5 separate regions of the Homo sapiens genome follow, and all the other regions are linked to region 2. Evidence: promoter capture Hi-C in human tissues and cell types (Jung and others, 2019). All regions are on one chromosome and are shown on one strand. The core of a region is centred on a gene start or on the middle of the fragment in contact, and the rest is flanking DNA. Distances in the headings are between cores, read along the strand shown.

Evidence for each region. Contacts are between HindIII fragments. The study calls those that stand out against the background at their distance.
Region 1: a fragment that was not itself captured here is called in contact with the fragment with the promoter of ADAMTS14 in region 2 in 2 of the 25 tissues and cell types used here (adrenal gland and lymphoblastoid cells).
Region 3: the fragment with the promoter of PALD1 here is called in contact with the fragment with the promoter of ADAMTS14 in region 2 in 5 of the 25 tissues and cell types used here (heart left ventricle, liver, mesenchymal stem cells and 2 more).
Region 4: a contact is called between a fragment that was not itself captured here and the fragment with the promoter of ADAMTS14 in region 2, in 2 of the 25 tissues and cell types used here (psoas muscle and spleen).
Region 5: a fragment that was not itself captured here is called in contact with the fragment with the promoter of ADAMTS14 in region 2 in 2 of the 25 tissues and cell types used here (heart right ventricle and thymus).

The regions. Positions count from the first base shown.
Region 1 is chr10:70,455,448-70,461,358 of GRCh38, reverse strand. It overlaps a transcript of PALD1 not described here. Among named protein-coding and RNA genes, the nearest start is that of NODAL, 17 kb to the right of the region's middle. RefSeq lists enhancers at 5,109-5,634, 5,635-5,911 and a silencer at 5,752-5,911. The HindIII fragment of the contact is 6,583 bases long and covers 1-4,565 here.
Region 2 is chr10:70,671,140-70,676,856 of GRCh38, reverse strand. It overlaps ADAMTS14 (ADAM metallopeptidase with thrombospondin type 1 motif 14), which reads right to left and starts at 4,351. Exons shown (of 22, transcript NM_080722.4): 1 at 3,973-4,351; 2 at 1,862-2,301. The coding sequence starts at 4,054. RefSeq lists a silencer at 5,470-5,717. The HindIII fragment of the contact is 21,684 bases long and covers 1-5,717 here.
Region 3 is chr10:70,477,517-70,482,780 of GRCh38, reverse strand. It overlaps PALD1 (phosphatase domain containing paladin 1), which reads right to left and starts at 4,014. Exons shown (of 20, transcript NM_014431.3): 1 at 3,722-4,014. RefSeq lists enhancers at 1,400-2,041, 2,219-2,398, 2,042-2,684 and silencers at 3,679-4,128, 4,329-4,398. The HindIII fragment of the contact is 10,532 bases long and covers 1,785-5,264 here.
Region 4 is chr10:70,900,455-70,906,215 of GRCh38, reverse strand. No RefSeq gene overlaps it. Among named protein-coding and RNA genes, the nearest start is that of PCBD1, 15 kb to the right of the region's middle. RefSeq lists an enhancer at 2,054-2,602. The HindIII fragment of the contact is 4,003 bases long and covers 2,149-5,761 here.
Region 5 is chr10:70,873,798-70,879,806 of GRCh38, reverse strand. It overlaps SGPL1 (sphingosine-1-phosphate lyase 1), which reads right to left. Exons shown (of 15, transcript NM_003901.4): 13 at 4,259-4,405; 14 at 3,146-3,266; 15 at 1-2,612. The coding sequence ends at 2,472. Among named protein-coding and RNA genes, the nearest start is that of PCBD1, 12 kb to the left of the region's middle. The HindIII fragment of the contact is 9,714 bases long and covers 1-6,009 here.

The sequences.
Region 1 (5,911 bases), core at 25-2,524, 210 kb after region 2:
AGCTGACAGTAAGTACTTGGGGTACTCCTAGGGAGTGTGACAGGGGTTCGTGGGGAAGGCCTCTCCAAGGAGGTCATCCCTTAAGCTAAGACTTGAAGGCTAATTAGATGTGTGCCAGGCAAAGAGTGGGAGAAAGGGCATTCCAGCCAGAGGAGACAGCAGGGGCAAAGGCCCTGCAATGGGAACACTCACATCACACTCTAGAAGCGGAAAGAAGGCTGCTGCAGCTGCACAGCAATGAGCCAGAGGGCTGAGGCCCGCAGGCCGGGGTTCTGGAGCTTGTATTTTCTTTTATTTTTTTTTGAGACGAAGTTTTGCTCTTGTTGCTCAGGCTGGAGTGCAATGACACGATCTCAGCTCACTGCAACCTCTGCCTCTTGGGTTCAAGTGATTCTCCTGCCTCAGCCTCCCAAGTAGCTGGGATTACAGGCGCATGCCACCACGCCCGGCTAATTTTTGTATTTTTAGTAGAGACGGGGTTCTCCACGTTGGCCAGGCTGGTCTTGAACTCTTGACCTCAGGTGATCCGCCCGCCTCGGCCTCCCAAAGTGCTGAGATTACAGGCGTGAGCCACCTGGCCCGGCCTGGAGCTTGTATTTCATCCTACAGGCAATGAGAGGCACTGAAGGGTTTCAGTGAGGGGAGTGATGCCATCCCATCTAGCTCCTGAGAGGAGTGGATTCTGGGGGGCCAGGGTGGAGGCAGGGAGGCCTCCACAGTTGTCCAGGAGAGAGATGATGGTGGCTGGGACCAGGTGGTGACAGAAGAGATGGGGAGGAGCAGGTGGATTCTAGAGAGCCATTTTGGAAGTGGGATCCACATGGCTGGTATGAGGTTGGATGTTGTGGTGTTGAGGGAGGAAGGAATCAGGAATCAGGGGCTTGGCTGCAGACAGAACGCTGGAGAAGGCGCAGAGGAGTTCAGTCTTGATGAATGGAGCCGGAGATGACTGTGAGGGAGCCCACGGGAGACGCACGGTAGGCCGGTGGGTGCAGGGGTCCAGAGTTCTGAGGACTGGTCTGGGGTAGACAAAGGCCGGGCACCATGGGCATTGGTGGCTTTTAAGCCCCAGGATGGGTGAGACCCTCCAGGAGAGGCAAGTAACCGCAGGGGAGAAGAGAAGTCGAAGCACAGCCTTGGAGGGCGGGCTTCGAGGGGAGGGGAGGCCTGGGGCAGGGGGAAGAGGCTCAGAAGACAAAGAGGACTGAGCAGGGGCCCAGACGGCGGAAGGGAAGCTTAGCCGCACGAAAGCTAAGAGGTGGGGAGCATTTCAATCGTGTCAAAGGCTGCTGTGCGGCCAGGCAGGGCTGGAGCCAATTTGGTAACACGGAGTCTCTCCTATACAACCCAAGCCAGGGCAGACGCCATGGTGGGTGGAGGCAGGAGGCACACAATGGAACCGGGTGAAGGGTGACCGTGAAGCGGGGAGTGTAGGCACCACGGACAACTGCTGTGGAGAAGGTGCGGCAGCTGGAGGGGAGAGGGCTGGCTGTGAAGATGAGGGCACAGGGCAGAGTGGCGTTCACCTATGGGGTGGCTGAGGGGGAGTACGTGGGGGAACGGAGGACAGGCAGGGCTCCGAGCTTTCCAGCCTCTGTTCCTTCCACTTTCACCTTGTGTCTGCAGTTACCCCATAATAACCACCCCTAACTCAGATGAGGACAGCTGAGTCCCAGAGAAGATCCCAACGTCACAAGGCGGGGGCTCTGCCTAAGCTGGCTCCGCGCACAGCAGGCTGTTTGGAGTCTGCCAAGACTCATGCAAAGGTCATGTGGGCCCCTTGACCAAATCTGGACGTCCTTCCCTCCATGCCAGGTTGGCACTGCCCAGCCCCAGCAACCCCCCCATCCCCACCCATCCGAGGCAGTGCCACAGAGGACAGCAGACAGACCAGGCACGGTCAGAGAGATCCATTTTGAAGGGGCTTGACCCTCCTACTGTCGCGGGAGGGGGCTTTTAAAGGAAAAGAACACAAAAATACAAATGCAAAAATTAGGTCCGGGCCTTGCAAGGGTCTGAAACTTAAGCTTCAATTAGCCTCAGGGCAGCTCCGCCTCTGACTGCAGTGACCTTGAAGAAGTGACTTCACCTCTCCGAGCCCCGGTTCCTCATCTGAAAAGGGAGCCGTCAGTATAGTGCCAGCGGGAGGGCTAACTGAGGTAACTGTGCAAAATGTTTATCACAAAGCAGCGTCCCAGTGAGCGATGGACAAACGGTGGCAGTGGCTCTTATAAACCGGGCTCCCTGGGGCTTGGAGTGGGGTGGGGTGGGATGGGGGAAGGGTGAAGCAGTGGGTGGGCGGATGGCGGGGGATAAAGGTGGGGGAGCCGCTCTCTCCCTGAGCCCAGGAACAGCAGTAATCCCTTGGTTTAGCAGTGCAGCACCGCGGTAAGGCGGTGATGGTGTGCGGGGCCCATCCTGACTCTCCTGCCCACGCACCAGGCCTCGCCTGGCACCAAATGGGGGCCCCCCGCGTTTGGTGGCGCCCCACAATTTACCAAGCAGGCACATCCCACCCTTCCCACCAGCAGCAACAGAATGAGGCCACTGGACAGAAGCCCAGCGAGGGGACGGGACAGATGGGAGGGGACACATCCCGCTGAGGGCAGAGCCCTGGGTAACCCCCACCCCGCCCGACCACAGGGCCTGGGCAGGAGCTCGCGCCGGAGCGTCTCTGTCTCACTAGGCTCTTGTCCCGGCCCCGGCGGCGGGACCGGCAGTGCGGGGAACAGGGGAGAGGGGCGGGTCCCCCTTGGCGGCGACAACGCCACCCGCCCGGCGGGAACACTCACTGCCGCCTCCAGCCTCGGTCTTCTTGCTCCGCAGCCCGTCTGCTCTTCGGCTGACTCACCCGGGTCGCCCTCCGCGCGCTTTCCCACGAGGGCGGGCGCCTGGGCCTCTGCCTCCAGCCCAGCCGGCCGGCCTGGCGCGCTCACCTCACCGGGCTCCGTAGGTCCTGCCATGCCTGGGGCCTCCGCTGAGCGCCTGGGCTGTGCCAGGCGCCCGGCCAGGCGCGGCGGGGCGGGCGGGACTGGGCACCGCGCCGCACAGACCACTATGCCCCTTCGCTGCAAACAAGATTGCGAAGCTAGAGGCAGGCAGGCAGGCACGCCGACTCCAAGTCCAGTGCTCTTTTCCTCTGCCTCAGCCTCCTCCTGCTGACAGCAATCAAGAAAAGTACCCTTTCCAGCCTCATTTATTAAGCATCTATTACGTACACCGGGCACTGAGTGAAAGGGTCCAGAGGGGGCTTCTGTCCCCTGGAAGCTCACAGTCTAAGAGAAGGTGGATAACAGGGAACACGGTGTAAGGACCCTGAGAGAGGCTGACTGGGCTGGAGAAATCCTCCAGGCTGGCTTCCTGGAGGAGGAAGCCTAAAGAATTAAGCAACTTTTTTTTTTTTAGGCGGAGTCTCCCTCTGTCGCCCACGCTGGAGAGCAGTAGCGAGAACTCGGCTCACTGCAACCTCCGCCTCCCGGGTTCAAGCGATTCTCCTGCCTCAGTCTTCTGAGTAGCTGGGATTACAGGTGTCTGCCACCACATTCGGCTAATTATTGTATTGTCAGTAGAGACGAGGTTTCACCATGTTGGCCAGGCTGGTCTCGAACTCCTGGGCTCAAACAATCTGCCTGCCTTGGCCTCCCAAAGTGCTGAGATTACAGACATGAGCCACCACACCCAGCCAACGTTTATTTTTAAATGGTAGTGGAGAGGATGCTTTATGGCCCGGAAAGATGTTCTGGTTTCATAAAAGAAGTAGTTTACAGAACAGTTCACATTGTGTGAATCTTCTAAGTGCACATAAATGCATGTGCACATAAATACCTAAGTGCAGGGGACAGGAAGAATGTACCCCCAAAATATTAACCATGGTTATATCTAGATCATGGGGTTACAGGGGATTTTTCTCTTCCTGTATATACCGTTATATAGTCTGCAAATTTTCTACAGCGAATAGGCATTCATTTTGTGTTTAAAAAGCACAATACGGGATGGGCACGGTGGCTCACGCCTGTAATCCCAGCACTTTGGGAGGCCGAGGCGGGTGAATCACCTGAGATCAGGAGTTCAAGACCAGACCAGCCTGGCCAACATGGTGAAACCCTGTCTCTACTAAAAATACAAAAATTAGCCGGTGTGGTGGCAGGCGCCTGTAATCCCAGCTACTTGGGGGGCTGAGGCAGGAGAATCGGTTGAACTCAGGAAGTGGAGTTTGCAGTGAGCCGAGACCGCGTCATTGCACTCCAGCCTGGGCAACAAGAGTGAAACTCCATCTGAAAACAAAAAAAAAAAACAAAAAAAGCACAATAGCACAATACATAAGAACTAAGCAGGCAGGGGAGGGGGGCAGGGGGGTGTGTGGGAATTGGCTGCATTTCATCAAAGAGTGGGTAGAGGAGAGGGAGAAGAAACTGTACAGGCCCTGAATGTTAGGAGACACTTCCACCCGCTGGCCTCAGAGCTCCACCAAGCATAGGACAGTCAAGTGCGGCGACAGGGCTAGGAATCATCCTAGATGTGGAAACTGAGGCTCAATAAGGTCATGTGCTGGTCAGGGTTGAGCTGGGAGCAGGACCTAGGTGTGCTGCCCCCCATACCCCAGCCTAACTGGTACTAATTTAAACAACCCTCCTGCTCCCCCACCTCTGCCCTCAGGGAGTTTCCTTGGCTGCACTTTCCCATCAAGGACGATTTTCCCAGCAGGGTGGGTCCCTCCAAATTTTTGTTACTGACCCCACCATCCCTGATGGGGCAGCTCAGGACCTGAGGCAGGTACAGGCAGAGAAAGGGTATGTGACCTTAGATCTTCCAGTGGGGAAGGAAAGGTCGGACAGGGACAGAGAGGACAGAAAAACGGAGCTGAGGGGTGGGGTGGGAGGGCAGGAGTAGGCAAGAATAGGCTGGGAAGGTTGGGCTGGAAGCTCCCCTGGGAGGGAGGCTGGTGTGGCCAAGACAGGAGCTGGGGGGAAGTGGCCCTGCGCTTGGAGCCTCCCTCACTCCTCATAACCCCAGCGCTTTCTGGCTCTGAAACAGCAGCCTTGGTCAGGGAGTGTTTGCAGCGCAGGTTGGTGGGAGAATGATTGGGGGATGGGGGCATGAACACGGGAGCAATGGGAGAAGGTCGGGGAGGCCTTGTAGTTTTGTAACATCTCGAATCATGAGGAGATGATCTCAGCTTTAGATTGCCCATTTCCCATTCCCTAAAGATATGTGGGGTGATCTGTGGGCAAACAGGCACAGATCGCTCCTGCCACCCCTGACACTCCTGACACCCAGAGTAAACGGAAAGGGCCAGGAGAACATGCTGGTGTCTTAGCTGTTTGTCCCTCCTGATGGCCAAGGCAGGGAATGGAGTTTAGAATCAAAATAGTCCTGGGTACCAATTCTAGCCACTTAGTACCAACTTGACCTTGGGCAGGTATTCCAAGCCTTCATTTTCTCATCAGTAAAATGGGAATAATTATACCTACAGAATGCAACATCAAAGGAGCTCCTTGGAGTCATGCATTTAACATAGTTACCCTGTACCTAATTTCAGAATAAAAATGAGACAAGTCTGAAGCACTCAGCACCATGCCTGGCACAAATTTGGTAACAATTGGCTTCAAACAAGTTTGTCCATCTATGGGATGGACACTCAATTGGCACAGCCCCCACTGCTGTCCTAATTCCCAAGTGTCCAGAGGTTTTGCTAGTAGCCCTAGAATGAAAGACTCTGAGGGTGGTTGGTGGGTGAGAATGTATGCAAGCCACTTCCAGTGAATGATCTACTCAGGGAAGCTACTTCCGGCCCCACTGGGTCTCTGCTTAATCGTATTAGCTCTCCCAGGCTTCCCTGCATACCCAGCCAGGTATGGGGTATGTGCATCTTCCTCACCTGCCTTTGAAGCCTGGGGCCCTTTGATGTTAG
Region 2 (5,717 bases), core at 3,102-5,601:
TGGCTTGCACCAGCACTTTCTCTCTACCTGCATGGATACTGTATCCCTGGATGATTCCTAACATCACTTGGGATTTTCCACCAAAACTTGTGGCCATGGCATAGCTCTAGCCAGCGGGGTGACCAAGGGCCCCTGTGGCACAGAGCCGCAGAGCCAGAGTGGGCTGGCGGCAGAGGCTCAGCCCAGACACCTGACAAGGCCTTAGGCTCCCCCAGCTGCCCTGACAATCTGCTTTCTCGAAGTCCGCTCTCAGGAACTCTTGAATCAGTTCACCTGCAGAGTTTGGTAATGATCAGATCCTGGTCCCTCCCCTGAGAGGCAGATTCTGCGCACCTGACAAGGTGCTCAGGTGATTCTAGTGCATGCTCAACTATGAGAACCAACTACCATGTAGATAAGCCCTCTCCATGAGGGCCCTACCACCTTCAATGGGATGAAAATTTATTCTGGGGAAGGCAAAAATATTACACCTTTGAATATATAAAACACAGATGGATATTCAGTGTATAAACAGATATTCAGTATATCTGTGGTATTAAAATTGCATGAGGAAAGCCAGGCACAGTGACAAGCACCTATAGCCCCAGCTCCTGGGATGCGGAGGCAGAAGGATGGCTGGAGGCCAGGAGTTCGAGGCTGCAGTGCCCTGTGTTTGTGCCTGTGAATAGCCACTGCACTCCAGCCTGGGCAACATAGTGAAAATCCACCTCTAAAAAAAAAAAAAAACCTCATCGTGGGGTAGACTGATGATTGGGAGGAAATGTCTAAAACATTTAGGGGTACATCATGATAAAAGGTGGAAAGCACTGGCCTAGACAGAGGCAGCCACGAAATCAGCAGATAAGACATCTCCTACACATGAGACAATGGTGACAAATGCTCCCCACCCTGCCAGTGAGGAAGGAACCCACAACCCCTCCCCATCTCAAATTTTCTCGCTCTCAAAGCTGAAGGGCAGAGGAGCAAGCGGGCCCCTTCTTGAGACCCATCAGCTCACATCTGATGTCTCTGGGGCAGGGAAGAGCTGCCCAACAGGACCTTGAGGCTGCTGTGCCAGCTCACAAGGGCCTGCACACTGAGGAGGAGCAGCGAGGGGAATGAGAGCCAACCCCAGGTGGGGGCGAGAAAGACAGCCCACCCCATGGCTTTCTGGTTTGCAATGTGGAGCCAACTAGCAGAGGCGCTCCCAGACTCTGGGAAGCATTGCGGAAGCAGTGGGGGTCCTAGGAAAGGGACACACAGAGCAGCCAGGAAAGAGCAGGCTGGCTCTGGGAGGAGAGACAGGGAGGAGAAGAGGAAGGACACGACGTCGCAATGTTACAAGACATAATAGCAGCCGCTAACTGTGCCCACGCCACGAGCCAGGCAGGGACAGCCCCCAGTGCACTGCCCAGTTAGGCAGGCCATATCATTAACACTCGCGGGTCAGCTCCAGGAGAGCAGAAGCCACGTCTGTCTCAGGCACCACTGTACCCCCAGCATCTAGAACAGTAAATATGTGCAAAATAAATAAGGGAAAGAACCACAGAGAGGTTAACTCATCCAAATCCTCACAGCTAGGCAGTGGCTCAGCCACACTTCCAACCCCAGTGTCTCTCTGCACTCAGAAACACCAGCCAAACAGCTTGTGATCCAGCTGGGTCCATGGAAGGCGAGGGGTGAACATCATCCCAACTTGGCCACTTCACACCTGGCAGCGCATGAACCTAGTGGCCCGCGGGGGCAGGCGGCACTCCCTCTGGAAGGCAGCACCACCCCTGCCTTGGCCCAGACTGCAAAACATGCCCATAGCAATCTCAAAACCATGTGAGCAGGGCATGGGAGGGGGAGGATGCAGCTTAATGAAAGTCTCATCCCTTACCAATCCGTCACAGTTGCTGATGGCAACAGCTGCCCCAGGCATTCCAGTGACACCTCCAGTGTACACACACTCCTGCCGTAAGGGCTGCCGGAACAGCTCCCGAAAATCCTCCTGCCACTCCACTGAGGATCCTGGCACTACCAACCTCCGATTGGGCCGCAGGCGCAAGTGCAGTTCCTTCCCGAAAACAGTGACATTGAAGTAGAGGGAGTGGCGCCCCACCCTGCCAGGCCACAGGGTCCCTCCTGGGTGCAGAGGGCTGCGAGCCACCCGGAGGTGACTGGAGTGTCGTGGTAGTGTGGGTGGCGTGTCCACTACCATGCTCCCTGCAGAGGCTGCTGCTGGGCCAGACACCACGTGGGAGAGGAAGCGTCCCCGAAAGTCTGTGCTGCAGGGCACTGTCACACCATAGTCACTGAGCTTTCCAGAGAGGTGCAGCTCTGTTGGAGGTAAACAAAGAGTCACTTCAATGCAGTCGGTTCAGAGGTAAGGGGAAGTCAGAAATCCCACGCGGGCAGGGAGGGATAGGAACTCTCAGTGTCACCCTTAGGTGGGCCCCTTAGCCTGAGTTCACCCATTTTCCATCCATTGCTTCCTGAGCTCCAGGATTCCTACACTTGGATGAAGGGTGTTCGGGTACCTTGTGGCACTCCCTGTAGCCCCCAGGTCCTTTTTAAACTTAGCAGAAGAAAGCAAATGATACCAGACAGAGCCCGGTCACTAGCAACAAGACTTCCGACCTTGGGCTCTGCCCAGAAAAGGACTAAAATTCCCCAAAAGCCAACAGGGCAAATAAAGGGAAGGGCAGATCTGCCCAAACTCCCCAGTGTGCTGAAGTCACCAGCCCAGGCTGGGGTAGTGCCCTCCTCCCCAAACTTCCAAGAACGCAGCTGGCAAAACAAACACACCTAGAAACCCAGGGGACCATGGGCACGTGTCAAGGAGAAGGTGGGGCTGCAGAGGGGAGCGGTTCTCTATTTTTCCAAGGTTAGAAAGAAAACTTTTTACAGGAGGACAGTGGCCGCTGAGATCTCTGTATGGCCGAGCCCCAAGCTGGATAAATATAGATCTTCAAAAATAAAAGGATATACAGGGGGTGACCTGCCCACTTGGGCTGAATTAACTGTGAGGTCATGGCCCCATGCTCCAGGCCACATGCCAGCAGGCCCATCCTCACGCAGCTCTCCTTGAGCCCAGCCAGGCTGGGCAGGAATGACAGCTCCCTGGCTTCCAGGCCTGGTGATTCATGAATGCGAGTTTGGGAGGAATTTTCATTTCCACACAGCTCTACCTCTCGTCTCCCCAGTTCACGTCACTGATGAAACATAGAAAGTGGTGTTTCCTGAAAATCCCCCATGCCCACAGCTCTAGTTTCATCCCCATTATAGCAGAGGACCCCTAAGACTGCTGCAAGAGGGGACCCACTCTGGCACATGAACAAGGCTCACAAACAAGGAGGGACCCTGCCTGGAAATGACCGGTGACTCCTCCCCATGTTCAGAGCCACCAGGAGGGTACCCCATGCTGCAGGGCGGGAGTGGAGTGTATCTGGTCTGTATGCAAGAGACCTGTGTCCACAGCGTTTGACAGTGCTACGTTGGGGGCAGTGGAAGGATGTGTGTTTCTGTGCAGGAGCGTGAGTGCCCCGCATGCTCTGCTGTAGGAGGCAATCACCTGTTAGCCTTATGCTGGGTATGTAACAGCCACACACAGACACACACACACACACACCCCTTGCACCCATGCTCACACAAGTTGGAGACAGAAAAGACATTGAAAGAGAAAGACACACAGGACAGAGAAACAGATTGGGGAAGAGGGGAAAGAAGAAACACAGAGAGACAAAGAGACAGATGCGCTGCTCCCGAGAAGAGACTCGATGCTCCCAAATTCTCTCCTGGGGTCTCTGTCTACTTCTAGTACCAGAAAGGGAGAGAAATCACGGGACAGTGCCGTGGCACAGTGGAAGAAAAGACAGCAAATCAGCCCAGAGTGTGCATACTGCCTCCCACCCGCGGGAACCCTGCCCGGGTGGCTGGGGCAACCTTGGGCCACCCTGACCGCGTGCACCCCGGACCCCACGGGCCCCCGCGCGCCCAACCCGCACGCACCTGGGGTCCGGCTGCCCGCGGCGGCGCAGAGCGCACAGTGCAAAGGCAGCAGGTAGGACAGCAGCGCGCGGAGTGGAGCCATGTGGCCGCGCTGGGACGCGGGCTGGGCAAGCGCCCGATCCCCAAGTCCCAGGCTGAGGGCGGCGAGGCTAGGGTGCGCCCCGGGCTGTCGGAGCACCGGCTGGCTGCCGCCGCTGCCGCCTCAGCCGCCTCCCCGCCTAGCTGCTTCCCTCCCGCCTGCTCCGGGTCCCCTGCGCGGCGCCGCCGCCTGGACCGCTGGCTCCGGGCGCGCGAGGCTGCCGGCTGGAGAGCGGGGCCACTGACGCGCCAGCGCACCCGGTGCCAACTGCCGGCTGGTCGGTCAGCCCGCCCGCGCAGTGACGCTCCGGGACTCCGCGGGAGCCGGGCGACGGGGCGGCGGGACGGGCCGGGGGTGGGCACACTGGGCGGGGCGGGGCCGGGCGCGGGTCGGAGCTGGGGCGCCGGGCGCCCGGGGGCGGGGCGCGCGGCTGGGGAGTGCAGCTGCCTGCGGCCGGGGATCGGAAGTGCCACGCGGAGACAGAGCAGGGGTTCCTGGCGCACGGACCGATTGTCCCCTCAGACGCCTGGGATCCCCGGAGTGGTGGCCCAAAGCCGCTTTCTATGGCTGCTCCGCCCCCTTTCTTGGCCGCAGGGCCTGCTCTCTGTTTCTGTTCCAGAGCCAGGAGCCCAAGGGGTGTCCGGCTGCATTTGGGAGTGTGGTGGACAGTGAACCTCCCGGTAGAGGGAGACTCCCTCTTTCTTTCACTATGGTCTTGATGCCCTCACTAACCATCGACCCCTTGGATCTACCCATTTTCCAGACTCCAGCCCAGGGTGCACGACTGACCTGTGTCCTAGCCAAGAGCAGGGCTGAGCCGGTGAGGAGAGAGCCCTGGCTTCAGAGTCAGACAGCCCTGATTGAAATCCTAGCTCTGAGCCTCAGTTGTCTTATCTGTGAAATGGGTGTTAACTACAGCACATAATAGATGCTCAATAAGTGATAACTGCCCTCCACTTCCATCCCTGACACCAGTAGCAACTGTGGCATCCCAAGGTGGAAAGAACCAAGAGTCTGAGAGATGAGCACTTGATGCTAGTCTTGCAATGGTGTTGAGACCAGGTCAGGAGTCAGTACAAACAACCCAACAGAAGATCCATGCTCTTGCTTTACTCTGTAAATATGTAACTAATAACTTGCAAATAAACTATATTTCAAGCAATCCAGGGGTGGGAGTTGTGGAAAGGAGATTTTTTTGTAATAACCATGGAATAAAGAATCTTGGAAATGATGCCAAGGTTTTGGAGGACCAGTGCATTTAAGAAGCAGGTTCAGAAAGCTAAAGTATATTATATTCCAAGCATTCCAAGCTACATCAGAGCATCCAGTTATTTGGAAATGCCACAACCAAATTGATCTATATTAAATTCAGGAAGAATAGAGTTCCTCTTTCTCCTCTTTCTGGTCTTTTAAGATGTGTGTTGGCTGCGTGCAGTGGCTCACGCCTATAGTCCCAACACTTTGGGAGGCTGAGGCGGAAGGGTTGCTTTAGCCTGAGAGGCTGAAGCTGCAGTGAGCTGAGCTTCAGCTCACACCACTGTACCCAGCCTGGGTGACAGAGCAATACCCTGTCTCAAAAAAAAAAAAAAATGATGTGCAAAGTCAAGGTCCAGACAGGATTCTGTGTGTGAGGGATGACAGAGCAAGAAAGTTAGAGGGTGTGTGT
Region 3 (5,264 bases), core at 2,765-5,264, 190 kb after region 2:
TAACCCTGTTACACAAGGGACTTGAGGCACAGAGAGGTTAAGTTTCTTGCCCTGGGCCACATGGCTAATGAGGGAGGGAGCAGAAATTCAGACCCTGGTAGTTTCTTTCCAGAGCCAGTGTTCTTAATCACAACAGGTCTATTTGCAGGTAGGAAGATGGTCGAGGCAGATGTGTCAGGAAAAGCCCTGAGTGGAAAAGGAACTCAGGGATTATAAAGGCCAGTGCTTCCAGACCTTCTCTTTCCCCGGGTCCCAGCCAAAGGCCTCGGAAGACAAACAGAGCCTCCTCCCAGACTAAGCCTGCTGCTCCCAGGCTCAATCCTGTGCTGAGCACCAGTTACAGGAAACATAAAAAGTCCATCTGCAAGTGCCTTGGCCCAAGACAGGGGCAGCACATGGCTGGGCTGCCCTCTGGGAAACGAAAGCCATGATTTGGGACTATTCTTAGCAAACACTGGCTCCCCTCCCAGAGGCCCAGCAGTCAGCAGGCCCAAGCTTCCATACGCCCGCCCAGCCTGCCATTTCCTGACCCCGTGTATGGAGGTCCCACAGGGCTAAGGAGGGACTAGTGGGCACCGACTGAGGACAAAGCCCTCCAGCTTTCACAGGAGAGGTGCCTGGCCCACCCAGCCTGCTCCAGACCTCACCCAGAGGCCCAGGGCCATGCACCTGGCTGCTGAGGAAGCCCTGCAGAGTCCTGGCCACAGGGGATGGCTCATAATCAAAGGCCCCCACCGCCACATCAACTGAGCACTCACTCCATGCCATGCACTGGGCCACATGCTTTGCACTGATTTTCTCCCACTGAACCCACAAGGAGGTAGAGGTTACTGACCCCACTCTAAAGATGAGGAAACCAATACATTAATTGACTTGCTGGAGGTTGCATGGTGCATTAGTATCAAAGCATATCTAGAATCTGGGCTGTCTCTCAGGTGCCAGGTTGGGCAGAGGAGACCTGAGCATAGCCAGGTGGGGGACCCCTTCCCTGTGCAAGCCCACGGCTTAGCAGAGAAGGAGCCCGCCCCAGAGGGCAGTGGCTCTCATCACAGACGCAGCTACATGTGTGCTCTCTCTCTCACCTGGGGGATCCCTGTCAAAGACCCGCAGGCTTGGGTTCAGAAGGAGAATCCCCAGACAGTTCCTCTCCTATTCTGGTAGGAAAGGAACAGTTGGAGCACCCTACCCAGGCCACACAGCCTCACTTCAGGAAGCCTCTGGAGATCCAGGGAAGATGAGAATCAAAATTCAAAGAGCACCTGCTGGCACTTAAGGCACAAACACAGCCTTGTAATGCAGAGGTGGAGAGGCCAAATGACTCTGAGTAAAACACAGGAGACTGAGCTTTTTGGGGTCCTCAAACCCCAAAGTGAGAGTCTAGAAATAAGCTCCACCACAGAGCACCTGTACCATCACCACCCCAAACAGGACAACTTCCGGGCACTGTGCCACGCAGGGAAACAGTGATAACCAGGCAATGCACGCCTCGGCCTACCTCTCAGAACCCACCTGTGTCTGGTTCCTGGCCTCTGCTGTCCGCTGGCTCTGGCAAGCATATGTGTCTGTGCCCCCCAGGAGCTCACAGCCAACTCCATTCTGCCCAGGCACTTGAGCGGCTTCCCTGTGGCTCCGAGTCTTTTGTCTGGGAATGTCGGTTCCCATCCCCGTCTGTGCTCTGCTGGGTCTACCTATATGTCTGTCCACTTACATGTCTGCCTCCCATGTGGGGAGATTCAGATCCCAGCAATGGTGTATTTCTATGTACGTGTCTGCAGCCCATACGTGGCCCACGCTGATGGGTTCATGTATGTCTGTCCCCGCACATGTCTGTGTCCCTGGGTTGTTTGCTCACCCCCACCATCCTCCTGTGTCTGTCCTCAAGTATATATGTATCCAGCTCCTCTACGTCTCTGCCCACACAGATGTAAACCTGAGCACACACACGCACTCACGTCTCTGCCCACACGGGGCATCCCCCACAGGTGCCTGGGTAACCCAGGTCTGTGCACCACCTGTTTGGAGGCAGGCAAGTGTGTTCACACAAGTTCTCACAGTGCCAGCCAAGGGCTTCGGGTGAGCTCAGCAACTCCCACTCCCAGAACTGCACCCAAGGCCACGAGCATGAGCACACTGCCACCTCCACGAAGTGCTCCAGAAAAACAGAAACCTGCCAGGGACAATGAGGGAGGGGGCAGGGCCCCAGATACAGCAGAGCCTCACAGAAGTGAGGTCAGAGCTGTGCCAGGAACCACCCACCTCAAGCCACCTGGGCCCTACTGTGCCCACCCCCAACACTGGCCAGGAAAGGGAGGGGGGTGCATGCACCACCTGGGGTCTGTCTGCACTCATAGGAAACTGGCCCAGTGCCTGCCAGCCTCCCGACCTACCCCAACCCCCCGCGACAGAGGCTCTTCAGAAAGGAAGTGAGGACTTCCTCCTGCTTACCTCTGAACCTCCTACAAGGCTGGCTCTAGACCCCAAACCCCAGGAGCCACAGGGCAACTAGGAGTGTCCTGTGCTCAGCCCAAGCCAAGAAACCAAATGGGTTATTTCAGAAATCCACCAGCAGGAAACAAACAAACCTGGGAGTGGGTGGGGATGAGTGCAGGAGAACCTCCTCAGCGCCCCTGCTGCTCCCTGCCCTTGGAGCAAGGTAATAAGGAAGGGCGGGCATGGAGCTGGAACATTTCAGCACATTTGCTTGCTTGCATGGAACTGGATCTCTGCTGCCCTGGCACTCTCGCAGCCTACATTACTCACATAGCAATTAATGGTGTGTAGCCTCTTGGCTTTCCACTATTACCAGTTCAGGACTGGTATTGAAACCCTGTATCGGGGAACTTTGTGTGTTTATGTCCTGTCTTGCCCCCAGGGGCTGAGCCTCCTGAGGACAGAATCCTCCAAATCCTCCTCCATCCACACATTCCAGGGGCACGGCCCAGTGCCCTTCCTGGCATTTAAGAGGTGCTCGGCCACTGGGTTCAGGTTACTCTACCCAGAAGCCAAGGAGTTGGTTCCTGGGCCTCTGGCTGGGAGAGTAGAGATGCCCAGAAGATTCCCTGGGCCATGAAGCTTTACTCCCATCTCTGACAACCCAAGAGAAAGGGCTCCAACCATCCCGGCCACCTTCAGGAGCCGGGTCTCCCATAGGCCACTCTCTCTCTGACAGGTTACTGCCCCTTCAGGAAAACCCTCTGAAACTGAAAAACGTACTCTCCTTGGAGACCCGGGCCTACAGAGGAAGAGGGCCAGACTGGGCCAAGAATCAAAGCCTGTGCCCGCTGAGACTTCTGGACTCGTCCTGGGTCTGAGGGCCTCACGCCCCCTAGAGATGAGTCCCAGGACCCCATCTCGGTCATGAAGCGGCTTCCCTCTCCCCAATCTCCCCCTAACTTCGCGGGAAACCCTAGCTCCTGGCCATGCTCCCAGGTCTGGCAATGAAAAGTGGAATTGTCACCAGGCCATGCCTACACCAAACCCAGGGAACTCGGGAGAGGGGGTAGCCCAGGGTCCAACACACACAACCACCCAGCAACTGCTCCCTGTGAGTCCCTCTTGCCTCCCAGGGACCAATCCTGAGCGGGTGTGGGGTGAAGGCCCAGGACCTCACCTCTCCAAAGGATGGGGAGTTGGTGTCTGGAGCAGCCTCGGGCTGGGGGGTGCCCGGGGGATTCCAGATTTGCCCTCCCCTCGCCAGCCCCAGGGCAGGACACTTCGGTACCTGCCAGCCCGCGGCTCCGGGGGGCATCCGTGCTCCTGCGGCCGGCGTGCTGCGCCCGAACTGCGGGCGCCGAGTCAGGCAGCGACGGGGCGCGCCCGGCGCGCGCTCTGGCTCCAGCTCGCTCCTCCCAACTTCGCCAGCCCATGCGGGGGCAGAGGTGGCTCCGGAGGTGGGCAGGCCAGGCGGACCCGGCGAGGCCACGCGAGAGGGAGCCCGTGCTCACCGGCGACGGGACCTGCGCGCCCCGGCCCGTGCGCGCCGCGCTGCTCCCCAGCGCCCCGCTACCCAACGCCGAGGGGCGGACCCGACCCGGCCGCCAATCACCGCGCCCGCCCCCGCCCGGACCGCGAGTCCCGGCCCCACCGCGAGGGGCGGGGGGCTCAGATTTAAAGACACACTCAGCCCAGCCGCAGCCCCCGGGCGGGAGGAACGCGGGCGCCACGTTCCCCGGCTGCGCTTCCTCCCTCCGCCCGCCCACCCTCCGCGAGGAGGAAAAGTTTGGGGCGGGGGAGACTGCCCGGGAAGCCAGTTCCTCTTCCCTCGTCGCTAGTGCGGCTCCTTCTGGAAGACACCCAAACCCGACATCCAGCCTCCTGGCTGCGAGAGGCAGCAGCGCTCTGGGCGCCACACCCCGTCCCGGACGCCGGCTACCCGCGACACCCGCTGGCCCGGCTTCCCTCGCCCCCCTCTGCTTTACAGCCAGGCCGAGCCTCGGCGGGACCGAGCCCAGCATCCGGGCTCCGGGCCGGCCTCGCTGTGCAGTGCGGCCGGAGCTGGATGATGGTGCGCTCTGCACTTTTGCCTCCCACGTGTCGAAGGGGAGCCCCTAAACAGCAGACGGTCCCCCCAAGCAGGGGCTTCTCCCACGCCCCGGGGTCCTAAGGAAACGCGCCCCTCGGCCCCCAGAGGTGAGAGGGGAACAGCAGAGCAGAGCTTTGGATGGAGAGGGGTCCCTCCGCCCCCACCCATCATGCGGCTCCAGGCAGTGACCCGCACCATAGGCCTGCCCCCCCCACCACTCCTCACCCCACACGCGCGGACTAGCACTAGGCGGCAGCCAGCCCGGCCCACTCCGACGGCCCCGCACGCCCCCGCGAGCACGTGGGTGAACGCACCCACGTGCGTGCGTTCACTCTTCGCTGTGCTTCCTCGCGGAGAGATAGGCTTTGTTGTGGTTGGTGAGTCACTTCCTCCCTCTCGCTGCTCCACACTCGGGAAATCCTTTTTTCTCACCTGTTACCACCTGCCTCACCCCCATTCAGGACTGGAGCTGGATTTCGGCGAGCTGGGGTTGCCCCAGGATGCAGGCAGTGTAGGCCCCACCTCTGTCAGGCTGGAGAGCGCTGGGCTGGGAGAGGGGAACACATTCCCCATGACCCCTAAGAATAACTGAAGACAAGAGAAATCACTCATTGTGGTGGTCTCACCATGTCCCTAGCACCTAGCTCTTAAGTGCCTCGCGAAGTTATAAGGTCGGTACTTTTCTGATCCCTATTTTAACAAATGAGGAAACAGGCCCAGGGAAGACTTGTCCTCAGCTCCA
Region 4 (5,761 bases), core at 2,901-5,400, 230 kb before region 2:
CCTTGGCCCACAGGTGGTTGGAAAGGAGGAGAGTAAGAAGAAACAGGATGGTCCCCATGGACAGGAAATCTCGGTGGGTTCATGGACACAGCAGACCCCTCCTCTCTCTGTGCTCCCACCCCTTCCACTGTCATGTGAGGATGGGGCTGGACACGGTGAGATCTAAAGTGCCCTCTGGCTCTGAGGTAGCTGAGATCTCCGAGAGTCAGGGTCTGCCAGCAGAGTCCAAACCACCAGAGCCCCTCTAGGCATCTTGGGCCAGGGAGCCCCGTCCAGCCCTCATTTGTCTCAGTGCTTACTGCGGAGTGAGGGGCCCAGGCGGGCAGGATGCAGGAAGAGGACAGCAGCAGACTCCAGCCCTGGCCCACCTCACCCCCAGCTGGCAGTGACCTTGGGCAAGTCCTTCACTCTCTGGCTGTCTGTCTCCTCCTCTAGAGAATAAGCGAATCTCCCTAGTGGGCCTTCTGGCCCCCGGGTGGCTATGATTCCCTGTGGCTCCCACAGGGGCAGCCCTTGCAGTTCGGGCTGGTTTGCGGTGTACAGGAATCTGATTCCGACATTGAGAAGCATTGATTGCTGGGCCTCTTCGGGGGCCACTGGGCCACAAAGAGAGACCAATTAGGCCGTGTCCATCTTCCTTCAAAGCCACAGGGGCCAGAGCTCCCACCCGGGGTGCCCAGGCCTTGGGAGGCTCAGGTGGGAAAGGCTGCTCCTCCCAGGCCCCAGTAAAGATGAACAGGCCTGCCGGGAGTGGAGGGGAGGTGGAAGGCGGGCAGGGCTGGAGACTAATGGAACTATTCAGGGGGCAGGAGCTGGAGAGGAAGACGTGCTTGATTCTCAAGAAAGATGAGGGAAGTGGCTGAGGCGGGGAGGGCGATCCCAAGGCTGCCTCTCGGAAACCTGCTCCCGGGCTCCACAGGGCTGCAGCCGAGGGTGGAGCTCCCCCACCTCAGCCCTCACGTCGAAGCAGGTGCCAAGTTCTGTGGGCACTGCCTCCGTACCAGCTCTGCACAGGTGTCTTCTCCCATTCTGTGGCCCCCAGGCTGCAGGAGGCCGTGCTTCGGAGCTGCGGGACCACCCAGCCTGTTTGAAGCCCAGTGCTGCAACTTTGCTCTGTTATTTCTGCTATGTCACTCTGAGCGATTTAGTCTCTCTGAGCCATAGTCTCTTTGTCTGTAAAAGGGGGAGATAATAGAATCGCCTTCGTGGGGCATTTGTGAGGATTAATTAAGACTGTGTGCAGAGTGTCTGGCACTTGGTAAGCTTTCCACACCTCCTCCCTCCACAGCTCAGGCTTAGCTAAGTCCACGTCCCCACTGCTTCTCCCCCAGACCCTCATCAAAGTTTCCTGCTGACGCCCTGCCTCACCCCTTCTCCCCCAGCTTCCTCCTCCACTCCCTGCCAGGGCAACCCTCCTGCAATGCCAATCTGAACCTGGCCATTCCTGGGCTTGAAATCTGTCAGTCCTGGTATGGCATGAAGTGAAAGAATGACATGCATAGGCTGGGCGCGGTGGCTCACGCCTGTAATCCCAGCACTTTGGGAGGCCGAGGCGGGAGGATCACGAGGTCAGGAGATCAAGACCATCCTGGCTAACGTGGTGAAACCCCGTCTGTACTAAAAATACAAAAAATTAGCCGGGGGTAGTAGCAGGTGCCTGTAGTCCCAGCTACTCGTGAGGCGTGAACCTGGGAGGTGGAGCTTGCAGTGAGCCGATATTGTGCCACTGCACTCCAGCCTGGGTGACAGAGAGAGACTCCATCTCAAAAAAAAAAAACAAGAAAAAACAATGGTGTGCACATTGTTCAGGTGTTATCATAGTAGTGCAAGCCTGTGTTTTTAAAGAGTCTCTCATTTTTAGAGATATACACTGAAATATTTAAATATAAAATGCTATGTGATTTGCTTCAGAATAATCTGAGGGTGGGAAGGAGTGGGCGGCCGAGACCAGCCTGGAAACTTCCTGGTGGAGCTGGCTGGTGCGTCTGTGGGGATCGTTATGCCAGTCTCCCTTCTTTGGTATGTTTAACAATTTCTATCTATAAAAGGTTTGTACAAATGTGGAGGGAGAATGGATGAGAAGCTGGTAGATCTCTGTTGGTGCCAGGTGCTGGGTACATGGGGGTCCATGAACTCTTCTCTGTACTTGGTGCCTATTTGATAGTTTTCATAAGAAATTTTTTTTTTGTTTTTTAAAAAGGAAATTCTGTCTGTTCTCCCTGCTGCACCAGAATGGAGTTCATGCATGTGGCTCCAGGGCCCCCCACGAGCCATGGCCAGTCACCCCAGCCCCTTGCACCCTGTGCTCTAGGATCCAGGACATAGCCAGCAACCAGACATGCCCGCGGTCACACCTCCATGCCGCTTGCTGTGCCCCCTCAGAGTGGCACACCTCACAACCCTGTCAGCCGAGAAGGCAACTTCTTCTCTTGCTTCAGCTTAAGAGTTGCCTCCTCTAGGGAGCTGGTCCTCATTTTCCTCCGGCCTCCCCCTAGGCAGAGCTGCCCACTGCCTCCTTGAAACCCCCACAATCCCTTCGGCCTGGGACACTGCGGACACAGGCTGCAAGGGGTGGGGCTCGTCTTAGTGCACCCAGGTCCCAGCACGGGGCCTGAAGCTCAGTACCTGTCCACTGAGGATTGAAAGGTCTCACCTAACTCAGGACTGAACCTTGACTGAGCCCCCCACAGAATGGGTCTCGTTTCCTGAGGTGGCCCTGCCCCCTTCTGGTGGACAGAAGTGTTGCAGGGAAGGCGGAAAGCAAGTTGGGCCAAGTCCAAGTCTACTTCCTTCATGGAGCAGAGCTGGGAACTGGGCTCCCCAGGGGAACCTACACAGAACCATGCAGAGCCTGTCGCCATGAGCCTCTCCAACCTCTTCAGTGCTCTCAGGTCTTCACTTAGAGGAGCACGCCACAACCTCGCAGACTGGCTGGCCTTTGCTCAGCCACCTTCTCTGCCCGGGTGCCCATCCGGGTCATCCCCCCCGCCCAATCTTGCCTCTGCCTGGCCAGCTCCTAATGAATCTTCAAGCTTACTCTAAGCACCCCCTCCAATGTGAGTGCTTCCCATGTGTAGAGTTGTTGTCACTCCACTGCAGCCTGGCCTCACGGCCTCTGTTAGAGCACTTGTCACCTGTAGCATTGGTGTGATCATCTCCTTCCCTAGATCAGAAGGTCCCTGAGAGAAGACACTGGTTCTCAGCATGGCAGGGACACACTAAGAACTGAAGTCATGTGTTGAGTCTCTACCACTATTGCCAAAAGCTCCTTCTGCCCTTCTCTGACGGGAAGGCAGTCTGGCCCATCAGAGAGGAAGAGGTGGCAGGTTCTGCCTCCCTAAGGAGGAAACTGGAACTTACCATTTCTGATGTCTAGACCTGTGCTGCCCAATAGGGTAGCCACTAGTGACTTGTGGCCACTAAGAACCTGAAATATGCCCTGTGACTGAGGAATTTATTTTGATATTTTATTTAATTTCAATTCATTTTAATTTACATTTAAACACTGATAAACAATTTGACATGTAAATCTACTTTTTCAACCATAAATTTTACGAAAAATAAATGCGGATCAAGTGTTTCCAATAAAAATTTAGTGTTCAAATTAAGGTGTGCCATAGGGTAAAATACATAGTGGATTCTGAAGACTTATATGAAAAAAGAGAATGTAACAGCTCAATTTTATATCAATTACTTGTTGAAATCATAACATTTTGGATATATTGGGATTAAATAACATGCAGTAAATTAAAAGCAATTTCATATATTTCTCTTTACTCTTTAAGAATGTAGCTATCTGGCCAGTCGCGGTGGCTCATGCCTGTAATCCCAGCACTTTGGGAGGCCAAGGTGGGTGGATCACCTGAGGTCGGGAGTTCGGGACCAGCCTGACCAACATGGAGAAACCCTGTCTCTACTAAAAATACAAAATTAGCCAGGGCTGGTGGCGCATGCCTGTAATCCCAGCTACTCAGGAGGCCTAGGCAGGAGAATCGCTGGAATGCAGGAGGCGGAGGTTGCAGTGAGCCGAGATTGTGTCATTGCACCTCAGCCTGGGAACAAGAGTGAAACTCCATGTCAAAAAAAAAAAGTAGCTATCGGGAAGTGTAAACTCACATGCGGAGCCTGCATTTGTGGTTCCCATTATATTTCTATTGGCCAGTGCTACAGTGGACCAGGGCCCCACCCTCAGGACTATTGGTATTTGGGGCTGAACAGCTCTTCCTTGTGAGGGGCTGTCCCATGCACTATAGGATGTTCAGCAGCTTCCTTGGTTGGCACTCACTAGATGACAGCAGCACTGCCATCCCCAGTGTGACAACCAAACCTTGCCAACTGTCCCCTGGGGGAAAAAATTCACTACCACCCTGATGGAAAGCCACCACTCTGGGCCCTTCTGATGGGCAATCATCACAGCCCCCTGTGAGAGATGGGTGGAAACAGCCGGGGGTGCAGGGAGGGGACCAGCAGCCCTGGGCAGTTCTGTGGGCCCAGGAAGGGGACCAGAGGGGCCAGTTTCAAGGTTCATGAGGCAGGAGCCTGACCCTGCTGTCCTGATCTACGGGCTGTGGGGCAGATGCCCTGGGAGAACTGCCGAGAGGGCCCCTGAGGAGCAGTCTTGGTTGCCGAGGGATAGGGGCCCTCCCTGGGGGCACCTGCATAGAAGGCTGGCAGCTCAGGGAGCTGCCACCCCTGGGCAGGAGCCTGGGAGACTTTCCCTGAGCAGAAGCACAACAGGACCTGATGGCGGCACCCTGCGCGGCAAAGGCAAGGACAGCAGTGGGGAGAGGCGGCGTGGCTCTGGGTTCCTTGAGAGTGGAAGCCCTCCTTTGGGATCGGGCAAACCCTAGGGTTCATGAACCACTTAGGGAGGTGGGGTAGGAGGCGGGGTAGCCCCCCAAGTGTAGATTGTATATCCAGCCCATGGCGGGGCACGGGGGTTCTACCACATTCTAGTCTGAGGCGATTTAAGTAACATCATTTGCATCCCAAGGGTGTGGAGCACTTATCTCTGCAGCAATCATCGTGATCTCTCCCTCCCCACCTTCCCAGAACCTGACACAGCTTGGCAGGTAGAAACCAAAGTATAGTTGAGGAAGGAAAGGAAGGAGGGAGGGAAGGAAGGGAACTTGGCTTTGGTCGTTATGCAACTGGGAGATAGTGCATGAAGCAGACAGGCACCGGAATTGTGAATGTTAGAAGCTTAGAATGGGAAAGGATCTAAAGGCTGTCTTGTCCAAAGCTCTGAACCATATGCACGGCAGTCTCTACAGCAGCCCTAACAGGATCCGTGGATTCAATAGCGGCCATCAGGACTGCGGAGCTCCTTGCCCCTTCCCTGGAGGCCCATCCTGTGTGCGACAGCATGACTGGTTCAAAGTTTTTCTAATCCATTGACAAATATTAGAACTAAATAGAGAGTTTATCAGCATGACTGGAGACAAGATACCACATCAAAATCCACACTTCTCCTATATACCTGCAAAGGCCAATTAGAAATGTAATGAAGCAATCATCCCGTGCATAGCAGCCAACGCTGACTATAAAACACCTAAGAATAAACTGAACAAGACATGTCCAAGTCCTGCATGAGGAACACAGTAAAACTTTACTGAAGGGCATAGAGAAGGCCTGAATAAATGGGGTGATATATCACACTCCAAGATGGAAAGACCCGATAATATGAAGATGTCAATTCTTCCCAAATTAAATCTATAAATTCAATGCATTCACAATCAGAATCCTAAAGGGATTTTTATGG
Region 5 (6,009 bases), core at 3,505-6,004, 200 kb before region 2:
CACATACACAAAAATACACAATGAAAAGCCTACAAAAGTGTTAAGTCAAACTAAGGCTCTTAATTGTAAATTAAAGTGGCTACAGTAGGTCCCTTTGAAAAACACCATCTCCCCTGGCACCAATGTTGTCACAGCACAGAGGAAGCGAGTGGCTCGGGGTCTGGTTCTGGGGAGACGCTCTACAGGGGCACATGCTTCTCCATCTTGGCAGCTGGCAAGCCACAGTGGTGTCTGCTGGGTGGCTCTGGGTTCCTGGACCTCATTCAACATAATGCACTGACCAAACAGCTCTGACCACAGCTACTCTCAAAGAGGTGCCTGCCAGGTCTCCCTCTGACACACACACATACACACACTACCCACTCTTGGAACCCACAATGCACTGCTGGGCAAACAGGAAAAACACACACACACACACACACACACATAAATGCCACACCAGCCCTGAATGGCGTGGCCAGCTAGTCACAGTTGTTGGGTCAGTAGTACAGTGCTCAAGAACAATTCAGACTAACATGCCAAGGAGCCTGAGGAAAAGTCTGGTAGTCATGGCTCTCCCAGCCAGCATTCCCAGTGGGGGAAACTAGAAGACACCAGCCTGGAGAGGCTGAATATTCAGGAGTCCCTGAGATGGGGAATGGAACAGAGGAAAGTGTCTTTTGACTCATCTTAAGTACTCCCCTCCCCAAATAGAAACCTCAAAGACTGATCCATTTCCCCTAGGGCCTGGGCCAGGAGTAGCTCACTGCTCACTGCTGAGGAGAAAGGCACAAGATATAATGTCATAAGAGCAGGACAGTGGCTCAGCCTACAGAGTTCCCTATAGGGGAAAGAAGGCAGGAAATAGGCGCAGGGTCTGGTCCTGTCCCTGCACCACCCTGAGCAGCTAGTCTTGGGAAGGGATTACAGGCCCTGGGCCATAGGCTGCTCGCCATTCTGCTTTCCTATCCTGTTTCTCTCCCTGTGCTGCTCCCTTTTAGCCAGGGCTGAGAAATGTTCAGCACCTGAGGCAAAACTGCCATAGTACCTCTGAAAGCTGAATCAAGGGGGAAGAGGCAGAAGAACACACTAATAGAGAAAATTTTCCTTGCTACGGGTGCTCTTTCACACCCACCTAGGGTAAGTCAAGGCAACTTGTGAAGGTGCTTTGAGCTGTTCCTTCAAGCAAACACATTTTCATTACATAATGGCTTAACGCAAGGGTGCAGGGAAGGACCACCACCAACTTTGGTGACATATTTGAATCTGGGTGTTCATCCTACTCTGATATTCAAAAAAGCATAGAAAAAGGTCTGATTTCTGCTCATCACCAGCCCAGGATAGGGTTCAGGTGTGCTCTGACCACTGCCAATTCAGGAAGGCGGCACCATGGCCAAAAGCTCCCAGATTATTTGGAAACCATGTTTTCTTCCTAGTCCATGGTAACAAGAAAAAGCCAATGGAAGCATCATTCCAAACAATAATCTCCAAAGATGGTGGCAACCAAGTGTCAAATGGGGACTGCAGGCACAGAAGAGACCACCCCAAACCCTGCCTGGGTGGACGAAGCAGGTATGCTAGAATAGTCCTGTCCTGCAGAATAGGGAACGGCAGCTTGGTCGATCTGTGCCCTGGAAAAAGAAAATGAGTTGCAATAGAAGTGACTCTAAGACAGACAATGAACCTACTCTTAAGAGAGACAGGGCCAGGCACGGTGGCTCACGCCTGTAATCCCAGCACTTTGGGAGGCTGAGGCGGGGGGGCGGGTATCACCTGAGGTCAGGAGTTCAAGACCAGCCTGGCCAACACGGTGAACCCGTCTCTACTGAAAAAGAAAATTGAAAAATTAGCCAGGCGTGGTGGTGGGTGCCGGTAATCCCAGCTACTCGGGAGGCTGAGGCAGAAGAATCGCTTGAACCCAGTGGGTGGAGGTTGCAGTGAGCTGAGATCATGCCACTGCACTCCAGACTGGGCAAAAGAGCAAAATTCCATCTCAAAAAAAAAAAAAAAAAAAAAAAAGAGAGAGAAGGCTGAAAAAGCCTCCTGCTTAGAGTATACCTCACACCCAGCTGAGGAAACATCTGTTATGTAAACGCCTCCTGCCTGAGATAACAAAGAAGCTCTAGCTATCTCATAAACTGTACCCCAGCTTCTCTAAAGAATCAGGACAGGTCAGAGCTACCACACAATGTTTAAGTAAAGTTGAAAGCTAGAGAGTTTAGAAAAGGAAATGGTTAAAACAATTCCTAGGGTAACATTTATAACAAGGGCAAAATCATTATGTAATGGAATTCTCTGGGGTCTTCAAATTAAAAACCACAAAAGGAAGATAAGAGGAAGAACAAGAATCCTGAGGCTCAAGCTGTCTCATGGTCTATCTTGAGTTGTGCTCTATGGAGCAAGACCAGATGTCAAAGTTGTGCACGGCCTGTTCCATATCCCAAGAACCTTCTGAAGGCTGGAATCCCCTTGAGACTAGAAAGGGTCCAAGTTCAGTGGGGTTTTGGAGAACCATTCATCTGGCTGCCCTGGGTGACAGTGTCGGTGCTGTACAAGCTGTCCAAGAAGACTGAGGACAATTCTGCAACCATATTCCTGTCAACAGTTGTCTGGGCCATGCCATAGATGGCACCCTACAAATCCAAAGAAAGAGACATTATTAGTGAGGCCAGGTCCAAAAGCAAGAATAAAACTGCAGCAATGAGCCCCTTCTCCCCGAGTCCTAGCTTCGCATGTGCACTGCCCTACCCCATTTCCACCTAAGGCATCCCATCATTCTATCAGAAAAACAGCTGGCATAGTCAATTTTTCACAGGGACTTTCCAGTCTGCCTTTCTGCATAAAGGGACTAGCCTAAGAAAATTCCAGAAAAAACATGTTTACTATCTTTCCTGTGACAAAATTTTCTTTTCAAATGGACACTACCACCAGCTGCTTTTATACAGAAGTCTCTAACTTACAAGGTACTTTATAGTGTATCTCATTTGAGACTTCAGCAACCCTAAGGGGTGGGTGATGCAGAGATCATCAGCTCCAGTCAACAAATAAAAGATGTCTGTGGCAAAGGGGCAGAGGCAGGAACAGACTCCGGGTCATATGATTCCTTCAAACTCTCCACCAACACCTAAATTTCCAAGAGAAGAAAAAAAACTCCAAGTGTCCCTACCATTCCTGTGGTCTTCGCTTTAGGATTCTTCATGATTTGAGTGACAGATTCTCGAATGTCCTTTAGGAATTGTATAGCTACTCGTTTCCGGGCGTGTAGTAATGTGATGCAGAAATGAATACTAGGAAAGAAGAGACAGAGAGAGATGAACCTTGAAGAAAGAAAAAATGTTCTAAAATGATGCAGCCCCAAATACGGGAATTTCCTGGTTGCCCTTTCACAATATTTCTGACAAGTGTAGTCATCCAAGTTGTTCCTAGTCCTGGGAATCTCGGCTCTCTCATGCTTGGGGTGTCAGGCATGGGCTGGCCTCAGAGCTTCTCGGCATGACTGAGAACCATGCTAAGAGGATGAACAGTGTTGGCTGCTTTGTCCCACCCATCCCCTCACAAATTCCACCACCATTCCTTCAACCACGTCACCATCAATGAGACACTTTTATCTTAGATAATCAGCCCCCATGTGCTCTCATGGGGACAGGGCCACATGGCTGGGGTCTTAAAGGACTTCAGGGCACAGAAGAAATTCTACCTCGCCCTGGAGGAATTTAGTGGGGTTTACTGGAATTGTGAAGAGGGAAAAAGATAGTCCAGATGGGACTGGCAATGCACCAACGTGTGGAAGGCTAAGCTGTACACAGAGGACATGAACAGACCTGTACTCAGTTGGAGTGGTGCATTTACTCAAAGGCATCATGGAAGATTAGGTTAGAAAAGTCTAATAAAGAAGGCAGTAGCAGGCCTGAATGATTAGAGACCCCCAGGAAGATCTTGAACTAAATATTAGCCAGGTAACAAGTATTTTATAAGAGCAATTTGATGGCTGTGTACAAGATGGATTGGAGAGTAGAAAGGCTAGAGACTGAGAGAAAAACCTCATGACCAACCACTGGTCTAGGAGGCTGTCACCTAATTCTGCCAGAGTTTAAAGCTAATGGTCTTGTTCTTTGTATCTAATAATTCCAGGTGGCAAGAGAGAAATCCTTTATATACTACAGTTGCTACTAACGTGCTAGCCTCTAGCAGTCAAACTCTATACTTCAGGTTACTGTACCACCCAAGTTCTTCCAAAATCATGGAGCAAAATAAGGGAAAGAGGCTTCTTCAAGCTTACCTGGGTGGGAACTGCAACTGGTTCAAGTTCCACCCCTTAGCAGTCATCAGGTTTGATAGTCGGTAGATGTCAAAATCACGGGATCCCAGAGCAATGACTGACAATTGGGGATTCCCAAAAACAAAGATGCCTTTGATATTTTCCAGTCTTAAAACAAAAAAATAAATGAAGGAAGAAAAAGTAAATTCAGTCACATACAATCCCCTGGTCACTATCTCTTTAATCATTCAAAGTCTTCCTTATAATGAATGCAATCTAACCCTTTGGGCTTTAGTCTTCTCATCTTCAAAAAAGAAGAGGGCTACACTGGATCAGTGGTTCTTACTGAGATCAGAATCATAGATGGAACAATAAAAATGGAATTCCAAGGCCCAAACCCCATCTAGATCTAATGACTCAATCACTGACTTCGAACCTGTCTACCCAACTCCCAATTATATTCCCCTAGATGCTTCTGAGGCATGAAAGATGTACTAAAAAAATTTCTGGAAAAGTAATCTGCCCATCTCCACAGTTCTAAAAAGTCATATGTAATCCCTAAAGCAAGAAATGGTATAGCAGGTCTTAATAAATGGCCCTATCAGAGCTATAGGAGGACCTTTTATATATATCTAATTTTTATTTATTTGTTTGCTTATTTATTTGAGACAGGGTCTTGCTCTGTCACCCAGGCTAGAGTGCAGTGGTGTGATCATAGCTCACTGTAACCTCAAATTCCTGGGCTGTTCAAGCAGTCCTCTTGCCTTAAGCCTCCTGTGTAGCTGGGACCAAAGGTGCACACCACCACATGTGGCTAATTTTTATTTTTATTTATTTTTTATTTTTGAGATGGAGTTTCGTTCTTGTTGCCCAGGCTTGAGTGCAATGGTGCCATCTCAACTCACCGCAACCTCTGCCTCCCGGGTTCAAGCAATTCTCCTGCCTCAGCCTCCTGAGTAGCTGGGATTACAGGCATGCGCCACCACGCCCGGCTAATTTTGTATTTTTAGTAGAGACGGGGTTCTCCCTGTTGGTCAGGCTGGTCTTGAACTCTGGACCTCAGGTGATCCACCCGCCTCAGCCTCCCAAAGTGCTGGGATTACAGGGATGAGTCACCGCGCCCGGCCTCATGGCTAATTTTTAAATTTGTTGTAGAGATAATGTCTCACTATGTTGCTCCGGTTGGTCTTTAATTCCTGAGCTGAAGCGATCCTTTTGCCTTGGCCTCCCAAAGTGCTGGGATTACAGGCCGGAGCCACCGTGCCTGGCCAAGGATCTTTCTCAAATGAGAAATGCCTGCAGGCAGCTTTCCTTCCCCCTCAATATACTTAAAGAGCCTCCCCAATCCAAGTGACACATAGAGAGATGGGCAGATAAGATGTTAACAGATACATTAGACAAAGCATGCAGCCTGTTCTGGCCTTGGCTTAACCCAAGATTTCATTGCCCTCCTTTCCTCATTCCTTCTGGCCCATTTCCAATTATTTTCTTATTCCAATGATTCTTCAAGTATGATTCCTGGAGCAGTAGCATCAGTATCTCCAGAAATGGAAATTTTTAGAGCCCATCCCAGTTCCACTGAATCAGAAACTCTAGGGGTGGGCCCAGCTACCTGTGTTTTAACAAGTCCTTCAGGTGATTAGAATGCATGCTCAAGTTTGGGAATCACTGTCCTAACCATTAAATTGTACATTAGCCTTAGGGTAAGAGCTGCCAGTTATTAAGACATCCATAGAGATGAGATAAACTACAAATGAGGCCCCCGTCTCAAA